Linked DNA regions of Homo sapiens: all the other regions are linked to region 3. Evidence: promoter capture Hi-C in 16 types of primary human blood cells and fetal thymus (Javierre and others, 2016). All regions are on one chromosome and are shown on one strand. The core of a region is centred on a gene start or on the middle of the fragment in contact, and the rest is flanking DNA. Distances in the headings are between cores, read along the strand shown.

Region 1 (3,492 bases), core at 444-2,943, 3.1 Mb before region 3:
TCCATGTGCCAATAAAATCATTTGGGATGACTAACAGATAATGGAAATTACAATAAATCAAAATATATTTTATATCTTTGATAACTGATACATCAAAACTAGATAGTTAATTTGTGTTTGGGTCAGTGAAAAAAATGGCCAAAAGGGAAATGACCCAATAAAATATTATTGATCACCATAAAACTGTATTGAAGAGAAAAAAAACAGAAGAAACTAGCACTGGAAACAAATTATTCTGAGCTATTCAACTTCTTACATGTTGAGGCTCATTTAAAAAATGGCATTTATATAGCACACTGAGGTAAATGGACAAAGTTCCTGGGTTTCGGCTGCCCCAGTTCATTGGGCCACCCTAGAGCCTGAGATCACTATGTCACCATACTAAATACAAGTTGTAGTGTTCAACCTTGGGTTCACACTGGAATCACTCAGGAAGTTAAAAACATACATTGAATCTGCCCACTCCCTTCCCACCCCAAATAATCTGTGTTTTATTTTGTTGGTCTGGCATACAGACTGGGCATTACGACTTTTCAAAACTCCCAAGCGACTCTAAGGCATAGCCAGGGTTAAGAATCACTGCACTGGAAAGTAGTCAAGGAAATTAAAAACTTAGGCTCATCTAGTTTCCCAGCTCGGAACACAAATATGAGGGTTTTGGTGGTTTTCTTTGTTGTTGTTGTTGTCAATTCAGGGAAGTACAATGAGAAAAAAGCAAAATTGCAAAGTTCATAATATGAAAGTGAAAACTCTCCATCTCCTCCCAAAGCAACCACTATTGTTTCTTTTGATTTTTCGAGAAAAAGTTTATGTACATACCTGCATGTTTGTATTTCAAAAAATAATTGTTTACATTAAAGAGAGGACACCATATATAGTATTCTACGCTTTGCCTTTAATATTCATTACATGATGGGCCTGTCCTTTGAGTATACAGTACACAGCTACGAAGTAATTCACATGTCTGTACTGTTGTGCTGTGTTTTATTGAACCATTCCTCCGTGTTATCACTTCAGCTATTTTCACTACTTCACAGCAATAAACATTTTTTTTTTTTTTGAGATGGAGTTTCGCTCGTGTTGTCCAGGCTGGAGTGCAACGGCGCGATCTCGGCTCACCGCAACCTCTGCCTCCTGGATTCAAAGCGATTCTCCTGCCTCAGCCTCCTGAGTACCTGCGATTACAGGCCTGGGCCACCACGCCCGGCTAATTTTGTATTTTTAGTAGAGATGGGGTTTCTCCATGTTGGTCAGGCTGGTCTCAAACTCCCGACCTCAGGTGATTCGCCCGCCTCGGCCTCCCAAAGTACTGGGATTACAGGCGTGAACCACCGCGCCCGGCCTTAACATCCTTATACATGGGTTACCAGCATCGCGACGACCTTCTGCAAATATTTTTATAGGGTAAATAACTGAATGAAGTCGCTGGGCGCATCTAAAATTTGAATAAATGTAATGAGATCAACAAACAACTAAAAAGTAAACTGATGCTATCCACATTTGTCAAGTACACGAGTATGCCTGCCAGTTTGAAGGTGCTGGCGCGGCGCTGTTGGCCAGAGATCTCTATCAACCAGGGTCATCTGCCGGCAATGCCATAGAGGCGGTCCCGGGGGCGGGCCTTCTTGGGTCACGTGGACGGCCTCGCCCCGCCCCCGTCGAGGCGCCGCGCACGTCTGGAGCTCTGGCTCGTGCAGTAGCGTCACGCGGAGGCGGAGCGAGGACTCGGGGACAGTAAGTTCTGTTCTCGCCGCGCAGGGGGCGGGCTGGCGGGACCAGCTGCTTCCGGCTGGGCTGCGGGCGTGGACTCCTCATTCCGGCTGTGGCCGCGCCGCTGCGGGGCCTGAGGCCCTCTTGGGTTTTGGTTCAGCGTTAGTTAACGGTTAACCCGCCAAGGCGGGCTTCCGCCCAGGCACAGGAGACTCACCGAGCTTGTTCACCTTGAAACTTGGGCCACACCTGAGACCTGCCACCTAAGGGGGGTACGCGGGTCGTTTTTAACAAGCTTTCATGGCATTTGTGCCATGAAAGCTCTAAAGTATAGAAGCTGCTCCAGGGCTTCCGCAGCCCCGGCCGTCCTGGAGATACTCGCCTCCTGGAGTCTGTGTCGAGAATTTGCAGCACCTGGACAGCCACGTGCAGTCTCAGAACTGCAGGCGGTCTTTACCGAAATGTTAAACACAACTTGAAGTTAGGCAGGATAACTGCCAGAGCTGGATGGACCTTAGAGGTGCCAGCTAACGCGCTGTGAGCGTTTTCTGCGGTTAGGCCTGCTCTAAACATTTGACATGTGTTAAAGCATTTATGTGCTTTACCCACACCCCTATGTGGCGGGCCCTTCTTAAAGTAAAAGAAACTGCAGCACAGCGAAGTTAAGCAACTTGCCCCAAATCACGCAGAACTGGGATGCAAACCCAGGTCTAGCTCACTCGTGATCACAATTCAACATCATACGATGGTGCTGATTTCCAGAGCAGCTCTGTGACTTTATATAAAATTATTGGGCAAGCGTTCAATTGTAAACATTCGTGAACATAGCTGTTGCACATTAGCGTTCCTTTTTTTTTTTAATTCAGGACCATCTTTGGTGACAAATATAAATATCAATACTATATATATCACCAATATACATATTTGCTTTGCTAAAAGGTTTCTGTGTCTTCAGGATAGTTTACTTGCAAGCCTCATGTTTTTATAAAAACGTGGGTGCTACCTGAATAAAACTAATGCCTACCCGTTGGCGGTTTTGTGAAGACTAATGAACTATTATATTCAAAGGGTCCAAGCAGTAGGCATTTACTAAAGGACAGCTAGTTTTATCTGTTATTATTCTGCCATTCAGAGAGATACCAAAACTACTCTCTAAGGCATTTCTCTTCCCTGCATGTAAAAGCAAGGGTGTCATACTTGAGATAAGCATTCTGATAATGTGTAGGCAAAGTTTCCACACTTGGTAAAAGCATCTTAGTCATGGTTCAAGACGAGTGACAAGTAAGTACGTTTCACTTCATGTTTCTTTTATCTCCCGTGTCTTGTGGAAATTTGAGTTACACTAAATATTTTTTTAAATTCCACTTGAATTTATTTCCTTTGTTGGAAAGGAATCTAATAGTGACCGAGTATCCATTTAGCTAATTTGTAATTTTATATGGAGTTAGCACCTTTAGAAACCAATTTTAGGGACAGGCCAAAAATTTTTCTCGAAGAGAACATGAAACACAACGACTAAGTTTTTCAGGGGGATGTTTTCAACTAGCCGTCAAACTGTATGAGTTGTTTAATTTTCTGTTTCATTCAGTTAAGATTCTATTATCTTAAAGTAGACTTAAAATCGAAACATATTGGGAGTTTATGAATAGTTCATCAAAATAACGATAATTAAGGTGAACACGTGGGCTTTCCCTATTGTGTGAATGGATCATGATATTCACAATAGTAAGAATAATATGGGTGTTAAATGTAAAAAGTCCTCAAATAGTATAAATAGTACCA
Region 2 (3,204 bases), core at 591-3,090, 3.2 Mb before region 3:
AATGCATGTGAAAATAACAGTAGAAACTCTGGGAACCCCCCACACACGGTGTGCCCACTGACTAACCAGCTTTCTTTCATGGACTTAATATGGTACTTAAAGAGAAAGACTAGGGGCAGAGCAGAAGACCTGATGGAGCCCCCTTAGTGGGATGGGTGTACAGACAGAGAGTGGCTGCCTCTTGAGGACAAGCATAAAACCCAGGACTTTTTGTCATACAAAGCAAAACACATCTGCCACTGGGGCAGGATCAGAAAACACTCTCACCCCCAGTCCTCAGCAAAAGGTCAGCTGTCACTGGGGAGGGGTAGATTACAGCGAAAGCTATCACTGCTAAGCAAGATGGAGAAACCTATTCATGCCCAGAATCTTTGTTACAAAGCAAAGGTTTCTCACAAAAGGGACAGAACCAAGAAATTTGCTCTTGGAAGTTACAAGACAGAATTCAGCTGCCATAGAGGGAAGGGACAGGATTATGGAGAAACTCCCACACTTGAGGCTCAGGCCCCCAGGGCCTGAATAAGACAAAGGTTGGAACAGGAAGGCCAAGAAAGCCACCCTGCCCCCATCATGGGCAGCAAACAGCACAGAACTTCTGGGAGAGGGGCCAAAGCCTGGAAAGAAACATCCCCGTCCCCTCCCCCACTCTGGTGGCCAAGTGTGAAGGGCCAGCTGAAAGTTGGGGATGGAGCAGAAACACTGAGAAAAACCTTCTACCATTCCAGGCCTCATAGTTGAAACGCAAGATGTCAGTATGGAGGAATATGAAGTCAACAGTATAATAATGATAACTGTAGTAACAACAAAATCTAAACCTAGCTCAACTACTGATTAGATTTACCACCCTAGTAGCCTGATGAGTGAAGAGGCATGGCCATTTTCAGAAGTAAACACTATTTACATCAGTCACTCTTATTCTTTTATATATAATGTCTGGCACTCAGTAAAACTTACAAGGCAAAAGAGTTAAAAAGAAAAAAAAAAAAGAAGCCAATTTTCAAGAGATAAAGCAGTAAACAGAACCAGACTGAGAGATGGCCCAGAGGTTGAAACTGTCAAAGTAACTGTAAAAATGCTATGATTAATATGTTAAAGGATTTAGTGGAAAATGTGGACCACATGCACGAACATATACAGAATTTCAGCAGAGATGGAAATGATTCAAAAAAGAATAAATTGGATACACTAGACATGAAAAACATGTTATTATGGATGAGGAATTCCTTCAATTGCCTTATCAGCAGACTAGAGATAGAAGAAAGAATTAGTAAACTTGACTACAGGTTAGAATAGAAAATTTTCAAAATAAAATCCTGAATTTCAAAAGGTGGCAAGCCCCTCTGAGGAGAGCTGGAACAGAGAGGGGAAAAAAGAGAAAAAGAAAAAGTGGAGAAAAATAGAGCATCCAAGAGCTGTGGGACAGTATGAAATGGCATAATATACATGTAATTCAAGTCACAGAAGGAGAATAGAAAGAGATAAAAGGTCGGAAGAAATAATTGAAAAGATAATTGCTGAGAATTTTCCAAAATTAATAAAAGACAACAAATCACCAACCTAAATGTTTAGAGAAGCCCAAGCAGAATATATACAAAGGGCTAGGCCCGGTGGCTCATGCTTGTAATCCCAACATTTTGAGAGGCCAAGGCGGGTGGATCACCTGAGGTCAAGAGTTTGAGATCAGCCTGGCCAACATGGTGAAACCCCATCTCTAATAAAAATACAAAAATTAGATGGATATGGTGGTGCATGACTGTAGTCCCAGCTACTTGGGAGGCTGAGGCATGGGAATCACTTGAACCCAGGTGGCAGAGGTTGCAGTGAGGCAAGATAAGGGGAAAATCTTGAATGCAACCACAGAAAAAAAGAAACACTCCAAAAAAAGAAACCAGCCAGGCACGGTGGCTCATGCCTGTAATCTCAGCACTTTAGGAGGCATAGCTGGGCAGATCACCTGAGGCCAGGAGTTCGAGACCAGCCTGGCCGCGTGTGGCACTCACCTGTAATCCCAGCTACTTGGGAGGCTGAGGCATGAGAATCATTTGAACCCGGGAGGCAGAGGTTGCAGCGAGCCAAGATTGCACCACTGCACTCCAGCCTGGGCGACAGAGCAAGACTCTGTCTCAAACAAATAAACAAACAAAAAGATAAGAATTACATCATTACAAAGATGAGCAAAATGTATCAAGCACTATGCAAACTAGAAGACAATGGTGCAACTTCTTTCAAGTACTGAAAGAAAAACTCATCATAGAATCCTATATGCCCAGCAAAAGTATCTTTCAAAAATGTAGGTAAAATAAAAACTTTATAAGACAGAAAAAAAAAAAAAGAAAACTAAGAGAATGTGTTGCCAGCAGATCTGAACTATAAGAAATGTTAAAGGACATTCTTTAAGCAGAAGGAATATGATCTCAAATGAGAAACTGCATCTACGCAAAGGGAGAAACTGGAAAACTCATACAATGATGGTGGGAAGGGCCCAGTCTCTATGGAAAACAGCTTGGCAGTTCCTCAAAAAGTTAAACATGAAATTCACATATGACTCAGCAATTTCACACCTAGGAATATACTCTAGAGAACTGAAACAGGCATTCGCAGAAAAACTTGTACACAAATATTCATAACAGAATTGTTCACTATAATGAAAACAACCAAAATGGAAACAGCCTAAAATAGAAACAACCCAAATATCCATCAGCTGATGAATGGATAAACAAAATTTGGTGTATCCACATAATGAAATATTATTTAGCCATAAATAATGAAATACTGTTACATACTACAATGTGGATGAAACTTAAAAACATTATTCAAAGCAAAAGAAACCAAAAACAAAAGGCTACATTATGTGATTGCATTTCTATGAAATGTCAAGAATAACCAAATCCATAGAGTCAAAGGAGACTAGTGGTTTCTAGGTGCTGGAAGAGGAAAATAATGTGTACGGGTTTATTTTGGGAATGATTTAAAAGTTCTGGAATTAGATAGTGGCAGTGGTTGCACAAACTTGTAAATATACTAAAAAGCACTGAATTGTATACTTTAAAATTCTAGATTTTATGATATATAAAGTATATCTCAATTTTTAAAATGAAGAAATAATGAAGTGTTTTCATCTATGAGAATGACAAACGCTGATGATGCTCATATTGTTGGGGCTATGGGGAAAAAGACACATACATTGCTTGCATCCCTTGTTGA
Region 3 (3,356 bases), core at 857-3,356:
TCTCCTGTTAGATTTCTGGAAATGGAGACATATTAACTGGAGAACAGTTAAAAACATCACGTATAGGCTCAGGAAATGAAACTGCATCTTGTTTAGAATCCATTAGTGTTTCTGGCATGTGTTTTAATTCTGTCCACTTGCACGTTCATGCCGTAGTATGCTTTGCTGGATTCTCCGGATGTACTGTTCAGGTCTCCTCCTTCCTTTCTGAAAACAAAGAGAAAGGGAGAAAGAGTACCAGTGGCAAGAAACAGGGTGGATGTGTGAATTACACAAGTCATCAGCCACTTCATGATTTTTTTTCTGATTAAAACATAAAACTTTTATAAGTCACCGATTTTTTTGTTTGTGTTCTAGCTCCCTCCCCGATTTTTCTTTGTACAATATAAAGTCGTTTGTAACTTGCAGCTCACGGGCTTGAGGAGTGGCTGCGGTATAAGCGACTATTCACTACGCTCTTGCTTTCCAAGCCAATTCCTGATCTTGTGAACAGTACGAATTTACCCGCGAGTGTGTCAACTGACCTATGTCTTGAAAATAGGAACCACCTTGCGGTTTACTTGTGAAAATTAGCATTTTCCTCTAGCGGCTGAACACTTATGCAGCAATAAAAAGTGAATTGTTAGGCTTATAAATCTCGAGCTTGTCAAATTTTACAACAGAGGAGCAATAAAGCACCTTATAGAGATGAAGTTTTTCCTCTGAAGAACAGTTCCGTTTAACGACACCAGGATTTGCAATGACTCGAGGACGCCCTCTATTGATAGGAAAATCTAGAGCACCCGTGTACTTATGGAACAGGATATAGGGGGAGGGGAGTAAAAAATCATAGAAAGTCACGAGTGGAAAGACCCAAACCAAACAGAAATTATTGATCCTTAACTATTGAGTATATGCTTTGAAGTATGATCAATAAAGTGAGATGCTGCTTTTATAGGGGTCGAATTAAATCTTGGGTTAAGAGAAAAAAATGTAGTCTTTGTTAGCCAAATACTTTGAAAATCAGTATTATGTTTGATTACTTTTTTAAGATGCTTCTTAGTATGTCATGAACTGTATCTAATTATATGAAGTAATTGCAAGATAGTAAATTTTTGCTCTAATAATACTTAGTCCGCAGCATTATCTAAAAATGTCATATAACTTCCTCCCCAAAAGTCATTTCTCCAGGCAACTGTGAAGCTATTATTAAGCGTATTATGGATATACACAGGCTTGGATTATATTGTGGATAGTGAAAGGTGTGTTTACCCCTTAAGTCATCATAGTATGTAACAAGTAAGTAATGAAAAGTTACAGTAAAAACAGATAGGCATCCTTCATTAGGGACCTAGTGGTTTGGGCAATTCAAAATGTGTCTAATAAGTGAGCTGGTGAGACTGAAGGTTTGCCCCTCAATTATCCTAGTCCATTGATTAGCTCATTTAAACATGTGTGGAATATCAGCATGTCCGTGGTTGATAAGAAATTCCTAATTAGAGATTCTGAGTAACATAGCGGGTACAGTTGCCAACTACGATTTGGATGTTAGTGGATTTTAAATGGCAACCCTGTGCTGTTTGGGGAAAGGCAAAGGCGAGGGCGGTATCAAGTGTCTCTCAGCCTTGAGGTCATTCTTGAGATTAGATACCACTTCACACCTACCGATAACAAATTGGAATCTATCATCAGTCTCATAACTGCTTTTCTGTCTCCACTTGGCAGCCTCTTTCTTTGTAGACAATTGTCTTTTTCCTCACTTTCGGACCCATCCGATCATAAAAGGAGAAAGTGAGCTGCCATTGAATTAATCCGTAGAAATTTGTGGAAAATTTAAATAATCTGTAGAAATTTGTGAAAAAGCCACTGAGCAACAACAAATCGTGGCATAATTACACTGCATAAAAACCCACCACTCTCATTAATTACACTGTAACCGAACGTTGAAGTTTGCCCACTCTTAGACCTCTCCTTGCCGCTTTCAGGAAGGGAAATGTCAAACTAGAACACCTGAGCCTCGCACAGCTGCCAGCGAATTCCGGCGGCAGTTCGCGGGTACCTTCCCAGCCCATCCTATCTGCTCCGGACCGCGGGTGACATTCAGATTTCCAACACCGCCCCGAGCTTGCTTTACCAGACACCCTCAAACGACTCGGAACGCGGTTCCGCAGATGTGATTGGCTGAAAGGGGACCTGCCGCGCGGCGCTCTGTAAAAGCGCCTGCTTCCTCCAAGGAGGTGGAGCTGAAGCTGGCAGGGCCAGGGCAGGGAGGGGTAATTAAATTAAAAAAAAAACTTGGAGGGAAGATGAATCGGATCACATTAATTCAAGGAGAGGTCAAAGGCCGGTACCTTTGTAACGCCGGCGAGAGTAAGACTTGCGGTCGCCCATTTCTGTTGGGCGCGAGGAAACAGTAAATCGCGGAAGGGGGTAGAGGGGGAAGGAAAGGGAGCGCGAGGCAGCATGCGGCGCAGGAGAGAGGACTTGGAGTCGATGGACAGGGAACTCGAATTACACTGAGCGGGCGGGGGAGAGGGCCCTCTGGGTCCTGCGATTGGCAGGCTGAGTCGGGCTGACGTGCGGTCACAACCAATGGGGAGGAAGGGAGGGACACGGCGGGGGATTATGGCGTCGTGGATTGGCGGGCACAGGGCGGGGCGGGACGGCAGTGCGGGACTGAGATTGATCGACCGCGGGGGCTGCCGCGCAGAGATATCCGGGCCGCCGGTGGGTGGTCGCTAGGGCTGGGCCAGCCTCTTGGAGGTCCACGCCCGCCGAGCCCACGCTGGCTGGGGCCGGGGTGCCGGCGCGCTCGGGACTCGTCTCAGCAGTCGCTCACGGTCTTTGTGTCTTCTCTTCCGCCCCTTTCCCTGCCTGCCGCCTCCGGCCGCCACGATGCCCCTGCGCCCCGCTGCTGCCGCCGCGGACTGGCTGCGCCGGCTGCGCGCTGCTTGCTGCGGCGGTGGTGGCGCCCCATCTGCTACACGGGCCTGAAGAAGGAAGAAGAGGAAGCGAAGCGCGCCCCCCGGCCCATGCCGCAGCCACGGGCCCAGACCCGCCACGGCGCCCGCGCCGCCGCCCTCGCCGGAGCCCACGAGACCTGCATGGACGGGCATGGGCTTGAGAGCAGCACCTTCCAGCGCCGCCGCTGCCGCCGCCGAGGTTGAGCAGCGCCGCAGCCCCGGGCTCTGCCCCCCGCCGCTGGAGCTGCTGCTGCTGCTGCTGTTCAGCCTCGGGCTGCTCCACGCAGGTAGGACGGGAGCGCGCGAGGGGAGCCAGCCCCGGGGCCTAGGGCTTTGTTCCCAAATAGCCCCAGGTCTCGAAGGCGCTCGCCGGGGCGGAAGGGCGGCGTGGCGCAACGGGAAAGGCCTCCCGAG
Region 4 (3,507 bases), core at 892-3,391, 3.2 Mb before region 3:
TAAAATGGCCAATCTTCTCTTTGTTCTTCAGACATACAAAAGACCACTTAGCCTGTGTGTGTATGCCCCAAATTGCAATTCTTGTTTCCCAAAATAAAATTATTTATTTTGACTTCAACATAATAATGCTGCCTCCTAACAAACCACAACAATGATGTAACTACCAAAGTTAAGCTCTAAACACTGGGGCCTTATTAATGCTTATGTTCCCAACACCAGGTACAATGGCTGGCACTTAACAGCTGAACAAAATGCCATACTCAACCAGCAATTAGTTAAGTACTGACTATCTGCCTGATGACCAGGTTTTCAGAATCCAAAATGGATGTTTAAGAAAATGATTATCAACAATGTGGTGAAGGCAGGTATGAGATTCTGAAAGAACATAGAGAAAAAAGTACCGAACTCTGCATAAACTGGAGAAGGCTTCCCTGAAGGGATACTCATACCATGTGATAAAGCGCCACAGGCAGACAAGGTGATGATCAGACAAAACCACAGCAAATGCAACATTCCTTTACTCAAAAATTCATTTAGTCTCAACCAATATTCTGGGTTACTACACATTAGTAATCAGGCATTTATAACTGATTAGCTATCCATTTGCATTTTCTAATTGGGTCTCTCTAGTATAAATTATTAACTATTTGGTGGAATTAATATCTGAATTTTGCAGAAAGTCTACAGGAAGAAGACAGCTATGGTGGTGCTGTATATAACTGAAACGTGCATCAATTAGATAAACCTAGTGCTGAAGGAAACAGTCCTTCTTCCCTTCTTGTATTCCATCCACAACCTGTCCCCACTTGGAACACACTGCCCACCTTCTTCTATATCAAGATTAATACTATCACGTCCTTGCATCCCTGCTGGGCTCCATCAGTCACCACCAGAAACCTAAACCTCACAAGGGTATCCTTTACCTGTTTACTCCTTAGACTCATCCTCATATTGCCATGTATACTGCCCAGTCTTGCCCAATTCCCTCCCTACCACTCTCCTAAATTCTTCATTGTGCCCTCTGGAACTCCCAATCTGGGTCAGCCAAGTTCCTTCCATATTTTTAACCTTTCTTTTAACCACACCAAGTTCTGCCTCAATGAAAACATGGCTAATTCCCCTATACATCCTACAGATTGCAGATGACTTCTTTTACAGCTCACATGCCACAGGCCTAGAAGGTGAGAAACTGCTTCTTGCTCACACTGTCTGTCACCTACAGTCCTCTACTGCTCCTTCCTCCTTCAGCAACCCCACTACCTTTGAAGCTCAGGCCATCCAACTATACTACTAAAAATAGCCTTCTTGTTGCTACAGTCTACCACCTTCCTAATTCCCCTTTCCTTCAGTGAAAATTCTGTATCCTTCTTTTCCACCTCAGTGCCTGTATTCATGTTGATATCCCGTTGAACACTCTGGCCTCTCAGTTATGTGACCACCACACTACTCACCCATCCAAAATCTGAATTTCCAGCACAGTACTATTCTGCTCCTCTCTAACCGTCCCAGTTCAATTACTGTAGTGGTCCCATGGTAACAAATCTTTAACCTTTGGTTTCTCTAATTTTTTCTATCCTAAACGCTTTTTCCATTGCCTATCAGCCCACCTCTCATTTCTCATTCCTCTTTACCCAGCTTAGACTCCAGGGCTCACCACTGTCATCACTCCCTTGTCATGTCTTTCCTTTGCATGTCTTTCCTTTCTTCTTTCTCTCCATCCATACTTGAACCCCATCATGCCCATCTCCAAACCTGAGAAACTGAATACAAAGAGAAAAACTACAGCGGAGTTCACTAATTTCACTTTAATAGCTTGAAACTTCAAATGGGCAATCACTAGGGCCTGCTAATCTTTCCAATCCTTACTAGCAAGTTTCTTTTCCCACCATGAGAAAAAAAAAAAACAAAAAAAAAAACAAAGAAAGAAACTATTTCATACCTTCTGCTATCTCAAACCTCCTAACCAATAACCAAGTCTTCTCCCAGTCTCATCTTATACTTTGCCAAGAAAATAGAAGCCATTAGAGAAGAAAGCTTTTCCCAACACCAAATCTATAAGCCCAACACTGTATGGATGGGCACCTATCTTCTCTCCTGCTAAGATGGAAGAAGGATTAAAGGGCTCCCTCAAGCTCTGGATCCCAGTGTGTCTCTCACCTACTGATGACTTCACTCCTACCACTACCCTCTGTCTCTCCCCCGAGTCCAATTTCTCCCTCTGAATGGAATCATACCCATCAGCATAAAAATAAGCTTTATAATCTTGGTCCTCTCATCCACAAACCAAATAGAAATAGAACACTAACATGCCATTAAACAATGAAAACTTTAAGATACAGTAGCATTCCACGATACAACCATCAAAAGATATTTATGGGATATTCAGGTTTTAAGAACTTGGTTTTGTTAAGTTACCAATACAGAGAAAGTTAAGTTTGGCAGAGGTAGTTTATCCTGCTAACTAGAGGTTAAAAGTCCAACCATTCTAATGGTTCTACTAAATGGCCTTACCACTTTTGCTGTTTGGACAGGAAATAATTCACATATTACAAATCAACAATGTTTATAAATGGGTAACATACTTTCATTGTGGAAGAAAAAAATACTGGTTACCTTACAGTGTTTCAAAGCTTCTTTGTATTCTTTGTTTCTGATTGCATCTCTAGCACTTTTTAGAGCAGTCTTCACTTCCTTGCTGGACATTCTGTCAAGGCAGAAAGCCTGAGTAAATCTACAGTAATACCTACCCAATCGTAAATGTTCCAACAAACTTAGCCATCTGAAAAGGGACCCTGGAAAAGGAAAAGACTCCTTCTCTCTGGAACAGTCTTCCCTCTAGAATATACACAGTTTATTCCTTAACCTCTTCAGATCTGTACTCAAATGTCACTTCCTCAATGAAACCTTCCTTTGACATGCTATTTAACATTTTAATCTTGCCATCCCCCTACTCTCAACAACCCATTATTTCCGGAACCCCTTCCATTGCTTTATTTTTCTTGAAAGCATTTGTCACATTTAATATACTATATATTCTACTTATTTATCCTGTTTATTTTCTGGGTCCCAACCCCACAAGAAGCTAAGTTCCATGCAGGCAAGAATTTTTTTTTTCACTGCCGCATCCCCAGGACCTAGTATCTTAAATTATAGATGATCAATTAATAAGTGTTGAAATTGAGTTATATTTTATTTACATTCATTCTCTATATATTTTGGCTAAAATACAAATGATCTTGTTGATCAGGACTCAAAACACATACCAATCTCAATCCAACTCTCCCACTCTATACAAAGCTAGATCCAGTAGAATAAGCCCAAGTCACAGATAAAACACTAACACAAATAATTTCAGTGACTGTGATATGAAAGTTTAAGAAAGCATTGTTTTAATGCTAGTTTCTGTGAAACATAAATCAAGATATTAACTTTCTTCACAATAAGGATTACTGTAGGTTTATTACCTGTACTTTTTCTAAAGAAAAACAATGTTTAAACTTGAATGGA

Evidence for each region. Contacts are between HindIII fragments. The CHiCAGO score rates a contact against its expected background, and 5 or more counts as called.
Region 1: a contact is called between the fragment with the promoter of RFESD here and the fragment with the promoter of RGMB-AS1 in region 3, in 5 of 17 cell types (total B cells, non-activated CD4 T cells, total CD4 T cells and 2 more). The highest score is 6.6, in total B cells.
Region 2: a contact is called between a fragment that was not itself captured here and the fragment with the promoter of RGMB-AS1 in region 3, in 1 of 17 cell types (activated CD4 T cells). The highest score is 7.4, in activated CD4 T cells.
Region 4: a contact is called between a fragment that was not itself captured here and the fragment with the promoter of RGMB-AS1 in region 3, in 3 of 17 cell types (activated CD4 T cells, total CD8 T cells and naive CD8 T cells). The highest score is 5.9, in activated CD4 T cells.

What each region holds. Positions count from the first base shown.
Region 1 is chr5:95,645,084-95,648,575 of GRCh38, forward strand. It overlaps RFESD (Rieske Fe-S domain containing), which reads left to right and starts at 1,694. Exons shown (of 6, transcript NM_001131066.2): 1 at 1,694-1,734. The HindIII fragment of the contact is 4,150 bases long and covers 1-2,003 here.
Region 2 is chr5:95,612,690-95,615,893 of GRCh38, forward strand. No RefSeq gene overlaps it. Among named protein-coding and RNA genes, the nearest start is that of GPR150, 5.8 kb to the right of the region's middle. The HindIII fragment of the contact is 4,485 bases long and covers 1-3,204 here.
Region 3 is chr5:98,770,978-98,774,333 of GRCh38, forward strand. RGMB-AS1 (RGMB antisense RNA 1) reads right to left here and starts at 2,107. Exons shown (of 2, transcript NR_033932.1): 1 at 1,645-2,107; 2 at 1-207. RGMB (repulsive guidance molecule BMP co-receptor b) reads left to right here and starts at 2,686. Exons shown (of 3, transcript NM_001366508.1): 1 at 2,686-3,229. The coding sequence starts at 3,094. RefSeq lists enhancers at 2,263-2,312, 3,048-3,356 and a silencer at 2,533-3,162. The HindIII fragment of the contact is 10,132 bases long and covers 1-3,356 here.
Region 4 is chr5:95,544,448-95,547,954 of GRCh38, forward strand. SKIC3 (SKI3 subunit of superkiller complex) reads right to left here. Exons shown (of 43, transcript NM_014639.4): 4 at 2,614-2,704. The coding sequence starts at 2,703. Among named protein-coding and RNA genes, the nearest start is that of SKIC3, 8.8 kb to the right of the region's middle. The HindIII fragment of the contact is 219 bases long and covers 2,033-2,251 here.